Regions from separate parts of the Homo sapiens genome. Here all the other regions are linked to region 2. The links are contacts of gene promoters, found by promoter capture Hi-C in blood cells and fetal thymus (Javierre and others, 2016). All regions are on one chromosome and are shown on one strand. Each heading gives the region's core, a stretch centred on a gene start or on the middle of the fragment in contact. The rest is flanking DNA. Distances are from core to core; before and after follow the strand shown. Region 1 overlaps EXOC1 (exocyst complex component 1). Region 2 holds the start of REST (RE1 silencing transcription factor). Region 3 overlaps EXOC1 (exocyst complex component 1). Region 4 overlaps EXOC1 (exocyst complex component 1).

What was found. The method cuts DNA at HindIII sites, captures the fragments that hold promoters and counts their contacts. A CHiCAGO score of 5 or more calls a contact.
Region 1: a fragment that was not itself captured here is called in contact with the fragment with the promoter of REST in region 2 in 4 of 17 cell types (naive CD4 T cells, naive CD8 T cells, total CD4 T cells and 1 more); the score reaches 7.0 in naive CD4 T cells.
Region 3: a fragment that was not itself captured here is called in contact with the fragment with the promoter of REST in region 2 in 10 of 17 cell types (total B cells, total CD8 T cells, non-activated CD4 T cells and 7 more); the score reaches 12.6 in total B cells.
Region 4: a contact is called between a fragment that was not itself captured here and the fragment with the promoter of REST in region 2, in 4 of 17 cell types (non-activated CD4 T cells, total B cells, total CD4 T cells and 1 more). The highest score is 6.2, in non-activated CD4 T cells.

What each region holds. Positions count from the first base shown.
Region 1 is chr4:55,900,974-55,903,854 of GRCh38, forward strand. It overlaps EXOC1 (exocyst complex component 1), which reads left to right. Exons shown (of 19, transcript NM_001024924.2): 18 at 1,371-1,565. It overlaps EXOC1-AS1 (EXOC1 antisense RNA 1), which reads right to left. Exons shown (of 5, transcript XR_941069.4): 4 at 77-181. Among named protein-coding and RNA genes, the nearest start is that of EXOC1-AS1, 46 kb to the right of the region's middle. The HindIII fragment of the contact is 2,674 bases long and covers 58-2,731 here.
Region 2 is chr4:56,906,463-56,909,394 of GRCh38, forward strand. It overlaps REST (RE1 silencing transcription factor), which reads left to right and starts at 1,438. Exons shown (of 4, transcript NM_005612.5): 1 at 1,438-1,751. RefSeq lists enhancers at 895-1,824, 2,755-2,932 and silencers at 921-1,215, 1,315-1,704, 1,815-2,664. The HindIII fragment of the contact is 2,443 bases long and covers 983-2,932 here.
Region 3 is chr4:55,865,436-55,868,303 of GRCh38, forward strand. All of the region lies in intron 4 of EXOC1 (exocyst complex component 1), which reads left to right. Among named protein-coding and RNA genes, the nearest start is that of EXOC1, 13 kb to the left of the region's middle. The HindIII fragment of the contact is 1,036 bases long and covers 1,055-2,090 here.
Region 4 is chr4:55,881,921-55,885,032 of GRCh38, forward strand. It overlaps EXOC1 (exocyst complex component 1), which reads left to right. Exons shown (of 19, transcript NM_001024924.2): 10 at 1,903-2,008. Among named protein-coding and RNA genes, the nearest start is that of EXOC1, 30 kb to the left of the region's middle. The HindIII fragment of the contact is 559 bases long and covers 1,453-2,011 here.

The DNA of each region.
Region 1 (2,881 bases), core at 145-2,644, 1.0 Mb before region 2:
AACTTAAGAACAGACAAATATTCCTTTAACTGGATAAAAGATCTATCTCAGGCCTAAAGCTTACATGATACTTAACTGCAACGTTAGAGACATTCCCTCTGAAATCAATTTAAAGCAGAAATATTGTTAGATCCTTTATTATTTAGCATTGTTGTTGAAGCACTAGCCAGTTCAACAAGACCTGAAACATAAATAAGAGATATGGAAAACAGAGACGAGATTATCACCACCTGTATATGATATGTTGAAATTACTGGTGTTGGTCAAGTGACAAAATTTAAAGCAAATATACTGAAAAACAATGTATTTCCTGTCTACCAATTAAGAGCTTATGTAAAAACAAAATTTTTAAAGCACTAAGAATAACTTCTCAAAGAATGATAATTTAATGAATAATCACTAAGAAAATTTTAGAAAAAAGTAATGAGAGGGAATGGGGTTTGTCAGCATTAATTCTTTGTATCGTGCTCAAATACAGTTATGCCAGTCAATAAAAGTATATATATAAAAGAAGACCTGGGAATAATAGTTACAATAATATAACAGAGTCAGTATATTTAATATAAAAAATCTTACTAAAATCAATAAGAAAAGCACTAAGACCCCAATTTATAAATGGGGCAAGGGGCTGAATCACTACTAAACATATAAAAGCAGGTTAACCTTATTTATAGCCAAAGAATTATAAAATAAAATGACAAACTTTTTTTACTCTGGCAACTATTGTTATAAATTGTCATAATGCTTATGATGGTATAGTGAAGTAGCAACCTCATACACTGTTGACAGAAATATAAATTGGTTGAGCTTTCCTAGGAAGCAGTTTGTATATATACTGAAGAATCTTTCAAATACTTAAAGTTATGCTCTTCAACAGAGTAATTATAGTCCTGGAAATTTAATCAGTAAGATGGGTAAATACTTATATACAAAAAAAATTTATGACAAATATATTTATAGTAGATTTTCTAAAGTCTCACTAGATTTGCCAAGTCCAAAAAAAGAAGGGGGAGTGGGATGTTAAATATCTAGTACTAGAGGAATGAATAATAATTGTGGTTCAGTCATTGTGTGAAATATTATGCAGCCATTAAAATTTATATTTAGGAAAAAACAATATTAAATGTAAAGTGGGACATGAAATTTTAATCTCCTGTATGTATTCACACATCAAAAGATTACAAGGAACTCTACAATATTAACAATGTTCATCTCAGAAGTATGTTAATAAGTGATTGTTATTTTATTGTTTATACTTTCACACACTGATTTTTGCATGGTGATTATACACTACTTTGTAATCAGATTTTTTTAATGTAAATAATAATAAATGCAGGTCTTAGCCATTGTTTCTTTTCATTTCCTTGAAGCATTTCTTTGAAGGTGTTGAAGCTCGCGTGGCACAGGGCATAAGGGAGGAGGAAGTAAGTTACCAACTTGCATTTAACAAACAAGAACTTCGTAAAGTCATTAAGGAGTACCCTGGAAAGGAAGTAAAAAAAGGTCTAGATAACCTCTACAAGAAAGTTGATAAACATTTATGTGAAGAAGAGAACTTACTTCAGGTATGCTTACTTCTTTTGACCATCTGACTTAAAGATCCTTACATATATTGCTTTTCTTTAAATAATTTTCTAGAAATGCTACAGATCTAGAGCAGGAGGAGAGTTCCATTAGAGTACAGACCAGATTAATGAATTGTGAGGAAGAAAGGAATACTGTTTATATAAGCATATATGGCTATTTCTGCTTATTTCGTATTTCTGCTATATTATGGTGAGGCATTAAGTTTGTTTTTCTTTGGTTGGTTGGTTGGTTGGTTGGTTGGTTGGTTGAGTGGTTGGAATTAGAGATGGGTTCATAATCTGGCTCCAGATTAAGCTGTGTGACTTTGGGAAGTTACTTAACCTCTCTGAGCCTTAGTTTCCTTATTTGATAAGTGGAAACGATACATCTCTTGTACAGTAGCCACTGTATTGGGCAACATAGCAAGACCTTGTCTCTACTAAAAATTAAAAAAATTAGCTGGGCATGGTGGCACGTGCCTGTAGTCCCAGCTACTCGGGAAGCTGAGGCAGGAGGATCACTTGAGCCCAGGAGATTGAGGCTCCAGTGAACTATGATCCTACCACTGCACTCCAGCCTACGCAACAGAGTGAGGCCGTGTCTCAATTAAAAAAAAAAAAAAAAAGAAAGAAAGAAAGAAAAAGAAAGAAAGAGAAAGAAAGAAAATCAGCTTAGAGAGGTGGAGTAATAGGACCAAGCTCTCTTAACTAATGGGTAGTGGAGCCAGATTTAAAGTCCAAATTAGGCCATTATTCTTTATAAACCATATTGAAAGGCCCAGATATGAGTGAGAGTAATTCTGATTTCAACATCATGGAAGACTTCCTGAGGGATATTGCATTGTTTGTTTTAACCTCTGAAAGTCAGATGTACTTGAACAGGCAAAGTGGGGATGGAGGGAGTAGCATTCTAGAAAGAAATAATATGAGCTAAACGATGAAAAGTAAAAAGCATAACACTGCTTAGGGAATAGCGATTGGTCTTAAGTTGGCAGGAATTTAGGATTTATGAGATTTAGGATTTACAAGAAAAAATCTTGGAAGAATACATTCCCTCAGCTGTCAAATAGGGAAGATGATCATAATACCCACCCTCACCAGGTCATCATGAGACTTAATACTATAATATATTCATAAAGTGCTTTGTACTGTGCTGATAAAGAGTAAGCTTCAATTAATGTAATCTATTTAAGCCATTATGTCAATGTGTGTATCACATTGTGTCTTGGTAATTGTCTACATATTAGCCTCCACTGTTAGATTATAAATCACATGATTGCAGATAATGGGTCTGAGTCATTTTGCTGTCCTCCAAG
Region 2 (2,932 bases), core at 188-2,687:
CCTTAGGGTCTTCATTTCATCTTGCATCGGAGACTGCATTAATTAGTAATATATTGTCCAGATAGAGGGAAACAGAGGTCCTACGTGGGTATACCAGGAAATGAAGAGTCTGGAAGCCCTGCCCTAAGAGAAACAAATAAAGGAACTTCAAAGAGAAGGAAGTGAGGTACCCTGAGGAGAAGCTGGGATGTCTTAACAACTGCTTTGGGATTTTGAGCTTGCCCTTTTCACTGTGTAGAGTGTTCCTTGCCCTACTTTCCACCTGTTGAAGTTTTCCTCATTCTCCAAGGTCAGACTGAATACATCTACTGTGAAAAGTTTCTAGAACCTCTTGGGATCCATCTTCCTACTGGCAAACCCCCATAGCACTTGCTACTTATGTTGTAATACCAAGCAATAGTCAGACTTATCTAGGTCAAGTTAAGTAGGGGCTTGAACGCCACACTAAGGGGTTTAAGCTTTAAGCTTGTAGTCATGGGGAGCCACTATGCTTCTGAGGACAGGTGTGACTTACGACTGACGTTTAGGAAGGTATCAAAGGCAGACTGAGAAGCTCTTTCAGGTGTGAAAGGGGGTGGAATTACTCTCTCTCTGTTCTTTTTTGTTGTTTTTGTTTTTGTTAGCACATGACTATGGGCTAGGCATTCCGCTTGGTTATCCCGCTTCATAGACGTGAGCCCGGTTACTCCGACACACCGTGGCCCCAGGCAGCCTCCCCGTCCTCACCACCTTTTCTTCTGTCATCTGAGGGTAATTCCTCCCCTGCAGTCGTGCTTTCCGGGCTCAGCAATGACCTGCTACCTGCCACGTCTAGGGATCTGTCCCCTCAGTCCTCACGCTCACGCTTTCTGAGTCCATAACCTCCTTCCTGAAACGTTTTCTTCTCACTTCTCCCAAACTGACTGCATTCCCCCTCCGGTAGTTTGAAATTTGGAAGACTTTTTTTTTTTTTTTTTTTTTTTACCGCAGACGCTTAAAACGAAGCTTAATTAGTCAAGGACAGCTATGGGTGGAGACTTGAAGAGATCTGAAGGGTATCTTGGAGCGCTTTAGACTTGAGAGGCCGGTGACAATAGCTCTAAAGAGACCCGTCAAAGCCTGCGGATTCTTCTTTTAACAGCTCTATTCTCATGCATGCACGCCAGGGCTGGGGGGAACTTTTGTTGTTTGTTTGTAATAGAAATCGAGAAAGGGAGTGGGGCCCGCCTCTTTTCTGACCTAAGGGCAGGAGTGAGGGGCCGGGAGGATTACGGGCGGCTCCCCCTAGACGCGCCCCCAGGCGAGCTGGAGACTGGGGCACTCCTTGCTTGGTAGAGGGGCGGGGCGCGCCTAGCGGCCACGCGCGCGGGCGTCGGAGGGGGCGTGTCTCGCGGGCGCGCGCGGGCGTCGGAGGGGGCGTGTCCCGCGGGCGGTGGCGGCGGCGGCGGCGCGGACTGGGTGCGCGGCGCAGCGTCCTGTGTTGGAATGTGCGGCTGCCGCGAGCTCGCGGCGCAGCAGCGGAGCGAGCGCCGCCGAGGCCCGGGGCCCCAGACCCTGGCGGCGGCTGCCGCAGCCGAGACGGCAGGGCGAGGCCCGGAGGCCTGAGCACCCTCTGCAGCCCCACTCCTGGGCCTTCTTGGTCCACGACGGCCCCAGCACCCAACTTTACCACCCTCCCCCACCTCTCCCCCGAAACTCCAGCAACAAAGAAAAGTAGTCGGAGAAGGAGCGGCGACTCAGGGTCGCCCGCCCCTCCTCACCGAGGAAGGCCGGTAAGTGGGGCGCTGGGCTGGGGGCTCGGTCAGGGTGGGGGAGGGCCGCCCGGGCGGCGGCAGTGGCGGGACGGGGAGGGCGCGGAAGGACGCGGAGTCAGGCGCTGTCCAGGGCTGATTTGCAGATACTGTGGCTCCGGCGGCGGCGGCCCCGCCGGGCGGGGGCTGGCGGCCGAGCAGGATCGGGTTACACAGCAGCCGCCCGGGGGCTGGGGGCGTTTGTTGGGAGCAGCGCGTCGCCTGGACCCCCTCCCCACTGGAGGCTGGGACGCCGCCTCCGCGCTGGCCCGGACGCTCCACCGAGTCAGGTCCTTTGAGGCCAAGGAGCGGAGCTGCTCGGGCCCGTAGTCCTGAAACTTCCTCTGCTTCCTCCTCCTGCCCCCGGGTCCCACCGCAGCCCCGCGCCGGCCCGCGGCCCTCCTGGCCCCCTCCCCCAGGGCCTCTCCCTGTCGCCGGAAGGCGCCGTTGAGTGCGGCCGGGCGGGTTGAGTCAGCCCCGGGGCCCGGGCGGTTCCGCCTGCGGGGCTGGACAGCGATTTCTGCGCTTCAGCCGTCCGGCGCCGCTGGCCCCCGCGTCCGGCCACCCGACCGCTGGAGCTGGCGGGGCTGGGGCGCGCGTCCTGCCGGGCGCCGTGGGGGAGTGAAGTTCGCAAACTTCCGGGGCGCGGGGGTGGCGGCTGGCCCGTGTGGGGGCCCCCTCCGGCGCTCGGAGCCCGACGCCTCGCGAGGGCGCCCGCGGAGCCTCCCCGGCCCTGGGCGTTGGGCGAGCCCCGGGGCGGTCGGAGGGGCCCGGGGGCGGTCGGAGAAGCCCGGACGCCGGCTGCGCGGTAACTTTCCGTCCTCTCCCGGGACGGGGGCCCTAGGGCTGGGGAGGGGGCTGCCTGGACTCGGGGAGGACTGGTTCCGGCCAAACAGCGCCTCGAGCTTGATCCCCTCCCCCGTTTTAGTGTTGGAGAGCGCAGGAAAAGGCTCAGGACGAGTGTCGGGGCGACTCCCGCGAGTTGGTGTGTAAATGTGTGCAGTGAGCGGGCCGAGGCGAGAGGAAGCGAGAGCGCCCGAGTTTGCAAAGAGCTGCTTTGTGTTTGGTATTTTGAGAAAATGGCCGAATGCCTATTTCAGTTAGGAATGCCGCCGCCGAGGCAGGCGCTGGTGGCAGCAGCACGGAGGAATTCGTGCAGCACG
Region 3 (2,868 bases), core at 323-2,822, 1.0 Mb before region 2:
AGGAATCCCCAGGGTTGCCATCTCACCAACACTAGTCCCCAACATCTTGGTAATTGAGTGTGTAGAGGGAATGACCTTCAAGAAATTTATGGTAACTTTTCATGCCTTGAATCGTGGTTTAATTTGCTTCGAATGGCTTTTATTTTTTTTAACATTTCAGGGTTGAACATTCTGATGAGTCAGTGATTCAGTGATTCACAAGCTTGCTGTTCTGTCTTCAAATATTATGCATTTCCAGATGTTATTTATTGTGTAAGGTGATTTTAAACCAGTATATTTCAGGACAGTCATATAGAAAAATACATACCCTACCTGGATCTGCCTCATTAAGAAATACTACCAAAATCAGTGAGAAGAGTATTACTGTTTTTGAAAATGAAGTGTCTAACTTAAAAAAAAAAAGGCATTCAATTTTTCAGGCCATAAAACAAGAGTATAGACACGTTCATGTGTATAAACATTAACCCTAACTGAGATCGATTTTAAGAATACTGAGAAGATCCTTAAGGATCTCATTTTGAAAATCACTTGCTATATACGTCAGTAACTCTTGCTTTGGTTTAGTGGAGTTCAGGGAATAGCTTCATTAATGTCTACAAACTTGTTTTATGGACCTTGAAATTACAGCCTTTAATTCCCATTAAAAAAAAATGTCTCTAAGTTTTGAGTGATGTTAGAAAACAAATAAAAAATTATTACCACCCCAGTTTAAGAGCTCAATAATTAAGTAAGACTATTTTGATTATAAATGGTAGCAGTGGCAACTTGGTAGTTTTTATTGTTGACAATTGAATACGTAAGTTAAATAATGGGGCTCCTCAGCAGAATAAGGTTTGTAAAAGAGGACTTTTCAGCAGTTGAAGTAGATTGAAGTTTTTATTTGGCCTTTTTTTTCATTCTTTTACTTGCAACCAGCTTTTTAAAAAAGAATCTTTGACTTGAATCCTTAAATGCTGGCTTGAACTGTTATTTTGTGTAATTTTTTACTTGCCTCAATCTTGTCCTTTCTAACCATGTTTTGTGACTAATCCTCTGTGAGGGAGTGTCTGGGTAAAGCTTTTGGGCCTTAAGTAACATAACTAGGCTACATGCATGAGTCACAACTGACCTAAATATAATCCCCAGGAAATGATTAGTTTGCCAGGTTTCTCCTCTAAGGGTTAGTTAGTGCTGTTTCTTAAAAGACTAAGAGAAATTAGAAAGATAAATATATTTGTAGTCACTATCAGAAAGTGAATAAGAAAAATGAACACGGCAAATTTAGCTTCTTATGGATCTTTCCACTTGGTAGTTGATTTGGCTGTCTTTTGAACTTTAACATGAAGTTCAAATGAGATATGGGTAGTATTTTAAAAATTTAAGCCTGTTTACTTTTCTACCCAGCTAATATTCTTTGCTTACTTTCCTCTGCTTTTTTCATACTTTTTACTCTCCAGAACTGCCTAAAGTTACAGAAGGTGCGTAACACCTTTTCTTCTTCTATTCCATATGTTTTTATTAGTTGCCTTTGTTATATACCGTTGGTTGTATGTTTTATGAAATGATGTACTGGGACAAATTTATTTTAAAAATCTACATAGTAATAAAATTAATGATAGTATTTATTATTGGCTTTCAAGGACATATCATTAGAAAATACTTCTGAAGCAGTTAATTATAATCATGTAAAATATTTGTTTAAGTCTACTTGTGTAAGGACCTGTACAGAATGATTTGGGCAGTCCCTGCCCCCTAGTGGCTAATAAGCTGTCACACATGACAGTTGAACTTTTTCGCAGTGAATTAAATGGACTCGTTGAAAGGACAAGGAGATCGGTAATATCTCTCTAAAGAACTTATATACTAAAATCTGTAATTGCCTGTACCAAAAGTTTTAGTCTTCTTTTTGTTCTGGGACAAATGAACGTATTTCAGGTCATGCTGAATGTAAATATTCATTTTCCTATAAAATAATGAATACTAAAAGCATCCAGAGTTTGTGGTTTAAATCATGCCCCATTAAGTCTGTGAAATTGCTAACTTTATTTAGAGTGATAAAACAACATCTTAGGAGTTAAAAATGATTTCTTTCATTTTACCTCCTAACCTCAAGCTTTATATACAGTGCTCACATGCTAGTGTATTTCCTCAAAAAAAAAAAAAAAATGAACTGAAACATCTAGAAAGCATTTCAGGTTTGACCTCTTGGTCTTTTGTTATAAAGCATGAAGCCTGTTTAACTTTTTATAATTTCAAACAGCCATGTTGTTGTTGCTCTTACTTAGAGTTATTGAGAAAGCTGTAACTTATCTTTAGAAATGTTATCAATGCATGTGAAATTTTTTTAAGCAAAGAAATGGATAATTCAGTTAATATTCTAGTGACCAAAATAAATTATGGATTATAGATGCATTTTTCATTTTAATTAAAAAGTATTTGGCAAAAATATACATACTGAAGATGAAAGTAACAAAAGTAACAAAAGAAAAATTTCACCTGGGAAAAAAAGGAAAGCAAATTGTTTTTGTGTGTACTGAATTCATAGTCATTGTTTTGTTAGAGCAACAGCCACATCAGGTACGAAAAAATGTTTAGGTTTGTTCCCACCTGTTTTTGTATTTTGTTTTTACATTTTAGCTTAATTGTATTTTGGGAAACTGTGGTGAAAGCCTGTTTTAACATTTGTAAGTTAGTGCATTAGACTGCATGCTTTTTATTTATTTTTTAGAACTTTATTTCATTAACATATTAAATTATTTATAAAAATAAAGTTTGATTTTTTCATATCATTTGAATCATTCTATCCTCTTTTTCAGCTGCTAAATGTGACCTGTGCTTATAACTATACCTACCTATATGTATTATGTTATAGTCTTTTCTACTTTTTTG
Region 4 (3,112 bases), core at 482-2,981, 1.0 Mb before region 2:
CTGCTTGCTACTCGAAAGCCAAACACTAGAGGCAAGGGTTGCTGTGAGGAAAGGCAGATTTAATCAGCCAGAGAAGCTGAGGTGAGTGGAAGGAAAAAAAAATCAGAGAGCCAGTAGAGAAGATGGTGAACTAGCATTCTAAAGTACCATCTTAAAATTTAAAACTTACCATAGGGTTTTTGTTGTTGTTGTTGTTGTATTGTGTTTTGTTTTGTTTTTGTTTTCGTTTTTGTTTTTTTAGGCAGGGTCTCACTCTGACACCCAGGCTGGAATGCAGTGATGTGATCACAGCTCACTGCAGCCTCAACTTCCTGGGCTCAAGCAGTCCTTCTGCCTCAGCCTCCTGAGTAGCTGGGACTACAGGCATGTGCCACCGCTCCCGGCTAATTTTGCATTTTCTGTAGATACAGGGTTTCACCATGTTGCCCAGGCTGGCATCATAGAGTTTTGGAGAGACACTGATACAGTAAAACCTTCCTGTGGTCTTTCCTATCAGTCAGTTCTGTTGAGTGCCAGGAAAAAAGGTATCTAAGTCATTTGAGTCCCACTGAAAAAGTAATACATCCCAATGAAATAGGAATTTTAATTTATATTTGCTTTTAAAGTTATACAAAGATCATGGGAAATAATTGCCCATTTGACTAACTGTTCTTACATTAGATACAGAGATATGTGAAAAATGTATATGGCATACAAATTGAAAAAGGACAGGATCTATATATATTATGTTTGGTCCAAATGCTATTTTATAAGAATACAGCTATAAAATATTTTAAGACAATCAATGGTAAACTGTGAATCAATATACAAATATTTACACAACATGTACCTTTTGGAAGGTATACCTGATCTTTAAAGCAGGTAAACATGTTCTAAAAATTGACACATTAATTTGAAATAATATAGGAAATTGAAGCTTAGATTTTATGATAAACTTAAAAGAATAGGTACAACTTTTCTGCTTTATTTAAATTTTATTTTCTGGTTTATTTAAATTTAGTCAAATTCTGTTTGTGGCATTTAACTTCATACTTGGAAAAATATACAGTCTCCCACTGTTGAGGAACTCTTCTGGAGAGTATATTTTTATGTGATAATAAGTAGAGATGATGAAGAAATGATTTTTGTATGCCAAAGGATACAAAAATGTTTTTATTTAAGCGAGAATTAATCAAATCTGTTTTAAGAAAATTAATTACTTGATTTTGAAAACTGTAAGATATACTAATGAAGTTCTTATGGAAAATAACCTATTTTGGAGTAATATCCCAAGCTGGCAGAGGCTCAGTGAAACTAAATATTCTTAAGTGCCATTGACACTATTTATTATTGGTCTGTTTTTAAAGCAACATGACAATATAGAGGAAGAGCAATTAAGATTCCCATACACTTTGACCCTGTTATTCCATCCTTAAGAAATTATTTCAAAGAAATAGTTCATTAGAGATGAAAAGCTTATTGTAACATTGTCTATCATAGCAAAACATGGAAACCACTTCATTGTCCTGTGTTAGGGGATTGGTTTACTTAATGGTGCTACACCAACAAAACTGAATACTGTGCTGTCATTAAAATGTGAGACTGGAGAAATGTATTTGTTCTGATTTAGATATTCTGTATAGTGTGATTACAGTGATATTTAAAATATGCAAAAGGTAATATAGAAAAATGAAAATATAAATATGGTTATGTTTGACTTCATATTTTTGTAAATTGTTAATGTTATGATGCCTATTCAATTGTTTTTTAAGACAGAAAGTAACCTATTTTTATATCCTGTGAAATACATCAAAGTTTTGGACTATGAAATTTAAAACAAGCATGAAGGACTTGGGGAATTGAAAAATTGAAATTGTTATATGTGTTTTATTAATAAGAAGTACATGTTACTTTTATTTTAAGAATTACATGGATTATTTATCCCGACTATATGAAAGAGAAATCAAAGATTTCTTTGAAGTTGCAAAGATCAAGATGACTGGCACAACTAAAGAAAGCAAGAAGTTTGGTAAGCTTAGGCATGTCAGTTCATTATCTTCCTATTAAAAATGGCTTTATTTATAACAAATAATTCTAAGACTTCTTAAGCAAGGTGGAGGTAGATCCAGCAGAATTTATGAAAAAAGAGGTCTAAAACGTTGGCTTGATTTATAGCCGTTTCATAGAACAAATATGTATATCTGTAAATTTTCTTTAATTAAAATTCTGCAGTATGTGACTGTGACAGCGATTGTGTATTCATGCTGTAATCAAATATATATATTCATAAGAACAGCAGTTGGTGAGAAAATGAAGTGCAGTCAAGTAGAGAAAGTACTAGACTGAGAGACAGATGTTGGGAGTTCAGTTTAACTGATTCCCTAAAAGACTTTTTATAACAGTTGGGGGCAAGTCACTAATCTCTTAAGTCATTGCTCTCCACATAGAAATGAAACTGGTTCCTGGCTTCTTACTTCTCACTGGCTATTTTGAATCAAAAAGAAAGTTTAAATATTTTCTCCCCTGCCAAAGGGCTATAAAACTGTCACCAAACATTCTCATGTTATTTTACCTTATTTTTCTAAAGAGATGCTTTGATGCATGTTAATTTTTGTTGTTTATAAGTATTTTAAATGGACAAAAACATTATTTGAAAGAATAGCCAGTGACAGTATCAAGTTATGAGGAAGGTGATTTGCCGAGGCCACATTCTGCTCTTGCATGTATCCATCTCTGGAGTTCCTTTTGGATGGAGTTTTGTGCCTATTCAAGTCAAAACCTGGCCTTAAATGGCCACATTGTGTACTCCTCAGTGTGTCTGCATAGCTCCCCTTTAGAATAATGAGTTTAGCATTTGCCTGTTGAAAGGAGCCTATGCCCTAAGCAACTTCAGTAATCAAGAAACATGATTCAAAACTGATAGTACATGTTTCCATTCTTTTCTGTAGGACAGAGAAGACTGTCATTAATGGGTAATTATTCTGTAACTCACTGTTTTTAAAAAAATGCAACACTAATATATTGATTATACTAGTCCAGACATTTGAAATGGTTTGAATTTGTCTGTAAATATGCTACACTTTACAGATACTGATAAGAATCTTGGGACAGTAGGCTTTCGGAAACAGAAATG